Linked DNA regions of Homo sapiens: region 2 is linked to region 1. The links are contacts of gene promoters, found by promoter capture Hi-C in blood cells and fetal thymus (Javierre and others, 2016). All regions are on one chromosome and are shown on one strand. Each heading gives the region's core, a stretch centred on a gene start or on the middle of the fragment in contact. The rest is flanking DNA. Distances are from core to core; before and after follow the strand shown. Region 1 holds the start of KCNK6 (potassium two pore domain channel subfamily K member 6). Region 2 holds the start of SIRT2 (sirtuin 2).

Region 1 (4,686 bases), core at 1,846-4,345:
GGTTTCGTCATGTTGGCCAGGCTGGTCTCGAACTCCTAACCTCAGGTGATCCGCCCGCCTCAGCCTCCCAAAGTGCTGGGATTCCAGGCGTGAGCCAACTTGCCCGGCCTGTTTTTTGTTTTTTTGAGATGGAGTCTCACTCTGTTGCCCTGGCTGGAGTGCAGTGGCACAATCTCAGCTTATTGCAACCTCTGCCTCCCAGGTTCAAGTGATTCTCCTGCCTCAGCCTCCCGAGTAGCTGGAATTACAGGTGCCTGCCACAATGCTCGGTTGATTTTTGTATTTTTAGTAGACGGGGTTTCACCATGTTGGTCAGGCTGGTCTCGAACTCCTAACCTCAGGTGATCTGCCCACCTCGGCCCTCCAAAGTGCTGGGATTATAGGCGTAAGCCACTGCGCCTGGCCCTCATCCACCCCCTCTCAATATCTAAGTCCTTGGCCTGTCTTTAGCAAGAATCTTGTTAAGCTGAGTTTAGCAAGAATCCCCCTACCCGAATGTCTCTCCTCTTAGTATTCTTCCATCCACTGACTCCCTTATTCTACTTGTTAGCCATAAAACTCCAGCTGTGTTTGCTATATTCACAGTTGAGTTCAGTCTCTCTGGCCTTTGCAATGGTCTCTCCTCTACCACAATAACTTTCCATTTTTAACAAGTGTTAGCATATTTTTTTCTTTTACAACACACACAGCACCCTTCTTCTAAGTAGTGTGGTGTGTTGGCTAGCAGCATGGGACTCTAGAGCCTGATGGCCTTGACTAAATCTCTACTCTATGCCGTCTTTGCTGTGTGACCTTAGGAAAGTTACCCAACTTCTCTAGGCTTCGGTTTCCATGGCTAAAAATATACAGCCTATAAAGGCGCCTGCCTCACAAGGCTGTTGTGATGATTAAGTGAGTTAAAGCATGCATTGGCAAGTCCTCTGTCAGGCTACTGCTATTACAGGGAAATGGGGAGTGTTATTATCTCCATTTTAGCAATGGGGGAGGACACTGAGGCCTGGCAATGAGCCGCGGCTGAGCAGGGATGTAGCCAGGCTGTGCCTGACGTGTGTCTGGCTTCCCTCATCTGCCCTGCCAGGGATGACTTCTTAGAAGCCAGGATCTGGGAAGAGGTAGGAGGCGTGCACATGACCCAGGGAAGCTCAGAAGCAGGTCAGGCCGCCCTGGCAGCATGGGCAGACCCAGGGGAGGTCAGCTAACGAGAAGTCACCCAGCTCTGCTGCCAGGGGACCAAAAGCAAAAGCTGCCCCCTATTGTTGGCCGGGAGGGCGAGTTAGGAGTCTGGGCTAACCCTGCACCAGCCTCCTCTCCTCAACAAATCCCCAACAAAGAAACAAAGAGGAAGTCTGGGAGCTGAGAAGGGGCTGGGGGAGCAGCAGAGCCTGGCAACAAAGAGATTTCCCAAGTCTGGCTTCTCAGGGTTTCCCAAAACTCGGGGTCCCTCCACGGTGGGTCCTTTTGACACATCCCTAGCTGGGGCTGCTGAATTGGGAGTCCCAGGTCCAGAGGGAACAGGTGGTGTCCCTATTGGGAGGAAAATCCTGCATTGAGAGTGACCCCATATAGGGGAGATGTCAAGATGGGGTGGGGTACCTAGGGAAGGGTTTTGTGTCTGGGGTCAGAGTTGCCTGCTGGGGAGTATGGGGCCAGGAGACAGATGACAGTCTGGAGCAGAGGCCCAGGTCCAGAGGGCCAGGAGTCCCAGATGGCGGTGCCAGGTCCTTGCTGAGGAATCTCTGTTGGGAGGGAGGTCTTTAGTGAGGACACCCTGAGAGGTCTGGAGATTTAGGGTCCTCGCTAAGGCGCCAGGGTCAGGAGGAGGTTGAGATGGGGTTTCTCCAGGGGGGTTTCCCAGAAGGACATATCTGGAGGGTCAGGAGACATGGCAAGGGTGGCAGGCCCAGACTAGAGATAAAGTCAGGGGTCCTGGCATGGTTGAGTTCTGGGTCCAGAGGGGGCAAGGATCTCCCTTGGAGGGTGGCGTGTCCTGGGTCCTTGCTGGAGGTCTCTGAGGACAGTCCTAGGCTTAGAGGGGGCTGGACAGACCCGGGTCACCAAGAGGATTAAGACCGGGGAATGCAGTCCCAGTGCAGTGGCTCAAGCCTGTAATGCCAGCAATTTGGGAGGGCGAGGCGGGCTGATCACCTGAAGTCAGGAGTTTGGGACCAGCCTGGCCAACATGGTGAAACTCCGTCTCCACTGAAAATACAAAAATTAGCCAGGCATGGTGGTATGTGCCTGTAATCCCAGCTACTCGGCAGGCTGAAGCAGGAGAATAGCTTGAAACCGGGAGGCGGAGGCTGCCGTGATCCGAGATCGTGCCACTGCACTCCAGCCTGGGCGACAGAGTAAGCCCTGTCTCAAAAAAAGAAAAAGAAAAGAAAAAAAAAAAAGACCGAGGAACGGGGTCCCAGCTGGTCTCTGCAAAGGTACTCTGAGGGGAGCTGGGTGTTTCCTACTTAGGAGGAAGGGCTCGGACTTGGGCTCCCCGAGCAGAGCAGATATCATGAGCCTGGGTCCCGGGTCCTCACTGGGGTCTTTTCGGGGGATCCGAAGCCCAGAGGGGATTGGGATAAGGGTATTCGTGAGGGCCCCGGGGTCCCCAGGGGTTAAGGATGAAGTGGGGATCCCGGGTCCTCGCCGCCTTGCGGTGAGGCGCTTACGTACCCACGGTGGTGATCAGCGTGCTGGCGAAGAAGAGAGCAGAGGCGAAGTCCCAGGCGGGGTCCGAGGCGTTGGCGGACCCCGAAGCGTTAGCAAGCACGACCCGCCCCAGCCGTCCGGCCGCCAGCACTCGCTCCACGAAGGCGTCCAGGGCGGGGGCAGCCACACACGGGCTGCGCTGAAGCAGCTGCGCCCGCAGCGTCTCCAGCTCGGCTCGGAGCCTGGCTTCGTGCGGCCCCTCCAGCCGCGCCACCAACAGCGCGCCCAGCACCAGGTACGCGGCGTACGCGGCCAAGGCGCCCGCCAGAAGCGCGCCCCTCCGCATGGCACCCACCGGGACCCCGCGAGCCCTGGGTGGCCCCGCTGACGTGGCCCCCGCCTCCGGACCGTCTGGCACCTAGTTCCAGTTCCGGGAGTGCTACAGGCGCGGCAGCAGATGCCCCAAGAGGAAGAGGAAAAAGGGGAGGTGGGGGGCGGCGACGGAGGAATGCCCCGCCTCCGGGAAACTGAGGCACGCCCAACCGCCAGGTGTTCGTTCGGAGAGGGTGGAGCCCAGTGCTCCCAGACCCAGCAGACCAACGGGATGGAAAGGGTGGAGGTAGTCCTCTCTTCCCCTCATTCCTTCCTTCTCGTCCTCCTGGAAGGCTGGTTCTCTATGTTAGAAGAATCTGAACTTTCCTCTCTGCTCGCAGGCCGAGGAGTCGCCCCCCATCGCGCACAGCAGCTAAGGTTGTGCACTGCATCAGGGCGCGCGGCTGACGGAGCAAGGGGCAAACTGAAATCCAATTCTCGCTCCATTCGCCAAGTTGTGAGCCTCGGAGTGGGAACAGCGGACACCACAGAGTCAGGTGTCCCCTGTGCCCGTGTGGACAGAGTGGGGATCCTCAGCTACTCACCAAAGCTTTGTTCAATGCCCACTTTCTGCTGACCCCTCGCTGGATGATCCTGGAGACTCAGTAATGATGAGACCATCCTGCGCCATGCATTCATGGGGCTCCCAGTCTAACTGGGAGACTGACACAAGAGTGACCCACGCCTGTTGTCCCAGCTACTCGGGAGGCTGAGGTCGGAGGATTGCTTGAGCCCAGGAGTTCGAGGCTGCAGTGAGCTATGCCTGGGAGAGAGTGAGACCCTATCTCTAAAAAAAAGAAAAAAGACAGCCCAGAGTGGTCAGGGCTGTGATGAGGGAAGCAAGGGTACAATGATCAAGCCTGGAATCAGGGAGCCCTAGAGGGCCCTGGGAGTCCAGAGGAAGCAACCACCCCTGCCTAGGGAGGTCAAGAGAGCTTCCTGAGGAAGGGGCTAGCTGAGCTGAAGCATGAAGGATGAATGGAAACAAGCCAGGCAGAATCACAAATACACGCCTCTATTTAAGAGGAAATTTTTCTTTCTGCGCCCCCCCGTAAGTCTCTCCACTTCTGCCTCCAGCCAGAACTCAGCGCCTTCCTGACAGCCTTTTGGAGGGCAGCCCAGAGTCCTAACCCCATCCGACTGGCAGAGGAGTGGGGCTTGGGGCTCAGCTCAGACATGTCCCAGCTGGTTCTATTAAAGAGCTGGCAGATCACCGGGCAGAGCCCAACTTGGGGTTGACAATCCAGAAGCAGAGGCACCTGATAATAGAATCAGTAACACAATAGGTGCCAGTGATCGAAGGCTTACATTCTGCCAGGCCCTGTGGACACCTGAACTTGCACTGAATTCTCAACCCCGTCCCAATATAATTCCCACTAAACAGATGAGAAAATTTAGGCTTAAAAATGAAGTAGTCATTTGAGACCAGCTCGGGCAACATGGCAAAACCCCATCTCGACAAAAAATACAAAAATTAGCCAAGTGTGGTGGCATGCGTCTGTAGTCCCAGCTACTCGGGAGGCTGAGGCAGGAGGATCGTTTGAGCTCAGGAATTAGAGACTGCAATGAGTTATGGTCGCACCACTGCACTCCAGTATGGGTGATAGAGTAGACCCTGCCTCAAAAAAATAAAAAGTAGTAGTCACACAACTGGTAAGGGGTGAACATGAG
Region 2 (4,579 bases), core at 396-2,895, 580 kb before region 1:
AATGAAACCAAAATTAATTAATGAAATTTAATGAAAATTAACGAGACTATAAAGCTGGTTGAGATCAATATTCAGTGCCTCCTGGATCAGGCCCTGCTTGCATCACTGGGCATACAGCAGTAAACACAACAGACAAAAAACCCAGTACAATCCCTCATCTGGGCCTTTGCAACTGCAGTTCCTTCTCCTTGAAATGCTCTTATCTTGTTTATCTATTGCCTCATTTTCCTGCTTTATTTTTCTCCAAAGTACTTAACTACCTCTGACTTTATTTCCTTTTCTTACTTTCTATGTTTCTTTCTTTCTGCGTGTCTTTCTTTGTTTCTTCCTGTCTTTCCATTTCTTTCCTTCCTTGTGGTCTTATCAATCTGTTTATTTAGCTCCACTAAAATGTATGCTCCACAAGGGCTTAAGTTTTTGTTTGTTTTCTTCACTGCCTTTATCACTAGCACCTAAACGGAGCCTGGAACGTGGTAATGTGTAAAGAATATTTGTTTAACAGATGAATCCTTGGTCTCATGGAGCTAACATTCTTTTTTTTAATTTTCCTATTTTTTTACTTTAATTAGGAATTCAACATAGAAGAGCTTACATTCTCTCTCTTTGAATTTAAGATTTGAAGAACACTGCTCAGAAGACAGGATCTTAGAGTCAGGGACCAAGTATTAATTTCGGAAATCAAACTCTAGGGCTCAAATCGGGAACTAAGAATCAAAGATCATATTTGGAGGTTAGAAGTCAGGAGAAGCCACAGTTCTAACAGAAGTCTCAGGACTGGAGTCAGGTTTGGGTATCAGTGGATACAATGTGGATTCCAGGAGCTGAGAATCATAGTTCAAGAAAAGAAGGTAAGAAATGATTGGGTTAGGATCATAGCTAGATAGAAGATTGGTTTTGTTAAAAGTTAGGACTCGGGGGTTAGAGGTCAGGAAGTTCAGCATCGGAAGTCAGATTTAGGAGTATGAGGTTAGGAAGCCTCAGGGATCAGAGATTAATGAGGAATGTGACGCCGGGTCCTAGGGCTCCGTTTGGCAGCCTAAGGTTCACTCACGTGTCCCCATCCTCAGTGACGTAGCCGAAGACGAGGGGAGCCCACGACAGCCCCGGGCCCAACTCCGCGCCCAACCCAGGTCCTCCGGGGGCCGCTGCGTCCGGACCCAGGGAGCCCAGGCCGCTGTCGCACCATTCATCTGCGTCGGCAGCTTTTCCCAAGCACGCGACCCCAGCCATGGCCCCCGCCGCCTCAGGGGCCCCCCGCAGTCGCCCGCCTGTAGCTGGGCTTTGCCGGGAGTTCTGGAGCTTCCGCCCTGCGGGAAATTCCCCACCACGCCCCCTGATTCACCCAATGATAATATGCTGAATCGCTCACACCCCGCCCTCGTACTGCATCCTGACCAATCAGAGTATTCGGGAGGACTACAACTCTCTAGCCGTTCCCACATTTTCCGGGCGCCCTTTACCAACATGGCTGCTGACGCCACGCCTTCTGGGACTCGTAGTCCGGTCCTCGCGCGCTTTCTTACCTAACTGGGGCGCTCTGGGTGTTGTACGAAAGCGCGTCTGCGGCCGCAATGTCTGCTGAGAGTTGTAGTTCTGTGCCCTATCACGGCCACTCCCATTTCTGGTGCCGTCACGGGACAGAGCAGTCGGTGACAGGACAGAGCAGTCGGTGACGGGACACAGTGGTTGGTGACGGGACAGAGCGGTCGGTGACAGCCTCAAGGGCTTCAGCACCGCGCCCATGGCAGAGCCAGACCGTGAGTCGGGGATCCGGGTAGGAGGGTCGGGCCGCGCCGGGGCCTGGCTGAATGCTGCAGGCCCCGGGGCCCAAGGGTGGCCGCGGTGGGGCGGGAAGTAGGGAGCGCTTCGGGGAGTGGGATTCTGAGGGCTGTTGCTTAGCGATCTGTATCGCTAGGCTGGTGGGTTTCTGGGTCGCAGTGTGTTCAGGGTTCGTTTACCACATCCACTTGCCAAGTTGCCAATGATCGCGTGTTTCTCGCACCTTGGTTGCTAAGGTCCCTCGCTGCAAAGAACATAAGTTGCCCCGGTCCCGCTTGCTATGGGTACCTGATTGTTAGAGGCAACCAGAGGATGCTGAGGGACCCCTGCTGACCCCTCCTATGGCTTCCCCTTGTTCCGCGCCTCTCCTAAACCTACCGCCTCCACTGCACCACTGCACCTCCCTCCTAAACCTGCCTCCCAGCCAAAGCGTCTCTTCCCTTCTCTTTTCCTTTCTAAACTTCCCTCTGCCTTGTAAATCTAACCCTCCCCGCACACACACTCACACACTGTCGTGTCCTTCCTAACTCCTCCTGAGTGTTCCTTCATGCCCTGAATCCCCTAGGTAGGAGGAGGAGGATCGCTTGAGCCCAGGAATTTGAGGCTGCAGTGAGCTATGATCGCACTATTGCACTCCAACCTGGGTGACATGAGCGAGACCCTTTCTCTAAAAAGTAAAAAAGAAAGAAAGTAAGTCAGGGCCAGAAACAATGGCTCATGCTTGTAATCCCAGTACTTTGGGAGGCCAAGGTGGTTGGATCGCTTGAGCCCAGGAGTTCAAGACCAGCCTGGGCAAAAGCCCCTACTTTCTCCCTGTCCCCCTAAATCTTCCTCTCCAGCCTCTCTGCCCCTCACTAATCACCTCTCCCGGCATCACTTTGCATGTAGATAAGATCTTTTCTCCGTCCCCTCCCTCCCTCTGCTCCATTTTTACCACCATCCCATCCCAGTGTAACTAGGTTGGTGGGTGTTCTTGCCCCCTCACTGACCATTTGAACCCCTTTATTCCCCCCTTAATCGTTCTCCCCACTGTAACCACCTCTGCTCCCCTCCCCCAGCCTCTCACCCTCTGGAGACCCAGGCAGGGAAGGTGCAGGAGGCTCAGGTGAGATGGGGGAAAGGGTGGAGGGGAGGAGAGAGACGGACTTGTTCCACATCCCACACTGGGGGGAGGTGGCAAAGGGGAAACAGTCACCCCAGGGCCCTCGGCTCATTGCCCCAATCCCTCACACCACCCAGTGCAGCTTTCTGGGGAAAGGCAGATTCTGGGGATTGTCAGAGAAGAGTTTCCAGCCTCAAGTCCAGGCCTGTCCTCCCAAACTTTCCTTCTTCCTTGCCACTGCCTGCCATCCCTTCTGAACCACATTTGTCCTGGGACTGGAAGAGACAGGTATCCCATTTGGTCTTGGAACGCACAGATCTCGTGGACAAGTGATGGGAAAAAATGATCTCACAGCGTGATGACGAAAGTAACTCAGGGGGCCAGATGCAGTGGCTTATGCCTGTAATTCCAATAACTCAGGAGACTGAGGCGCGAGGATCGCTTGAGCCCAGGAGTTTGAGGCTGCAGTGAGCTATGATTGCATCACTGCACTCCAGCCGGGGTGAAAGAGCAAGACCCTTTCTCTAAAAAGTAAAAAAGAAAGAAAGTAACTCAGGGCCAGACACAGTGGCTCATGCTTGTAATCCCAGTACTTTGGGAGGCTGAGGTAGGAGGATCGCTTGAGCCCAGGAGTTCCAGACCAGTCTTGGCAACATAGGGAGGCCCCCACCTCTACAAAATATTTAAAAATTAGCCATGTGTAGTGGTGCATGCCTGCATTGCCAGCTACTCAGGAGGCTGAGTTGGGGGAGGATTGCTTAAGCCCAGGAGGTTAAGGCCGTAGTGTGCCTTGACTGTGCCACTGCACCCCAACCGGGGCGACAGAGCAAAACACGGTCTCAAAAAAAAAAAAAGGAAGAAAAGTAAAGAAACTCAGGGTACTGTGGGAGCACAGAGAAAATTTTCTGGGTCAAAGAAGATTCTAGCCAGGCCATTCCCTGGAGGAATCCACAGGCTGGTCTAGCTGTCAGACCAAGATACAGACACAGCATAAGTGAAGAGTGACTTAGAATTTTCTTAGACAAGGTGAGAAATGGTGATCCACACAACAGGTATCGCTTGTGCAAAGACCTGGGGGGCATGAAGGGGTGTGATGTGTTCCATAATTGGGTGGCTGGTGGTGGTCAGCTTGTTATAGTCGTGGTTAGCATTTACTGACGGCTTACTAAAGCTGGGCCCACTGTTTAGTGCCAAACGTGCCTCATCTCAATTTCATCTTCCTGGCATCCCTGTGAAGAGAAACGCCTATCACGGCCATTTTACAGATGCAGAATCTGAGGCAGAGTTGTTAAGTCACTTATCCCCCGTCCCTCGGCTACAGGAGCAGGGAAGGGTTTGAGTCCCCCAGCACTGGGCACGCCACCTGTCAGAGGCTGCCAGGAGAGGTGGACAGGCAGTCTCATAGGAGCTTGAAGGCCCCCGTCAGCACCTCCGGCTCTCCCTTAGGCCAAGCTGCAGACACATGCTGGGCACAGGCCTTCCACACAGCCTCACTGTGTACAGCCTGAAAGAGTGCCAGCCCACCCACACCCCTGAGATTGCCTTTCAGACGTGGGGTGGTGCAGAAGCGGGCATCAGAATACCTCACAAATGCACAGTGGAGCTTTGCTAAGGATATAAGAGCCTCCTGTTAGGCTGTGGCAACTCACTCGCCTGGCTCCCAAAGCACGACCACTGTCAGAGAAAAAGGTTGAATGT

Evidence for each region. Contacts are between HindIII fragments. The CHiCAGO score rates a contact against its expected background, and 5 or more counts as called.
Region 2: a contact is called between the fragment with the promoter of SIRT2 here and the fragment with the promoter of KCNK6 in region 1, in 1 of 17 cell types (neutrophils). The highest score is 6.2, in neutrophils.

Annotation. Positions count from the first base shown.
Region 1 is chr19:38,318,254-38,322,939 of GRCh38, reverse strand. It overlaps KCNK6 (potassium two pore domain channel subfamily K member 6), which reads right to left and starts at 3,095. Exons shown (of 3, transcript NM_004823.3): 1 at 2,668-3,095. The coding sequence starts at 2,989. It also overlaps a transcript of YIF1B not described here. RefSeq lists a silencer at 2,913-3,002 and an enhancer at 2,644-3,267. The HindIII fragment of the contact is 18,756 bases long and covers 1-3,567 here.
Region 2 is chr19:38,896,684-38,901,262 of GRCh38, reverse strand. It overlaps SIRT2 (sirtuin 2), which reads left to right and starts at 1,645. Exons shown (of 16, transcript NM_012237.4): 1 at 1,645-1,757; 2 at 2,838-2,884. The coding sequence starts at 1,742. NFKBIB (NFKB inhibitor beta) reads right to left here and starts at 1,294. Exons shown (of 6, transcript NM_002503.5): 1 at 1,052-1,294. The coding sequence starts at 1,230. The HindIII fragment of the contact is 23,515 bases long and covers 1-4,579 here.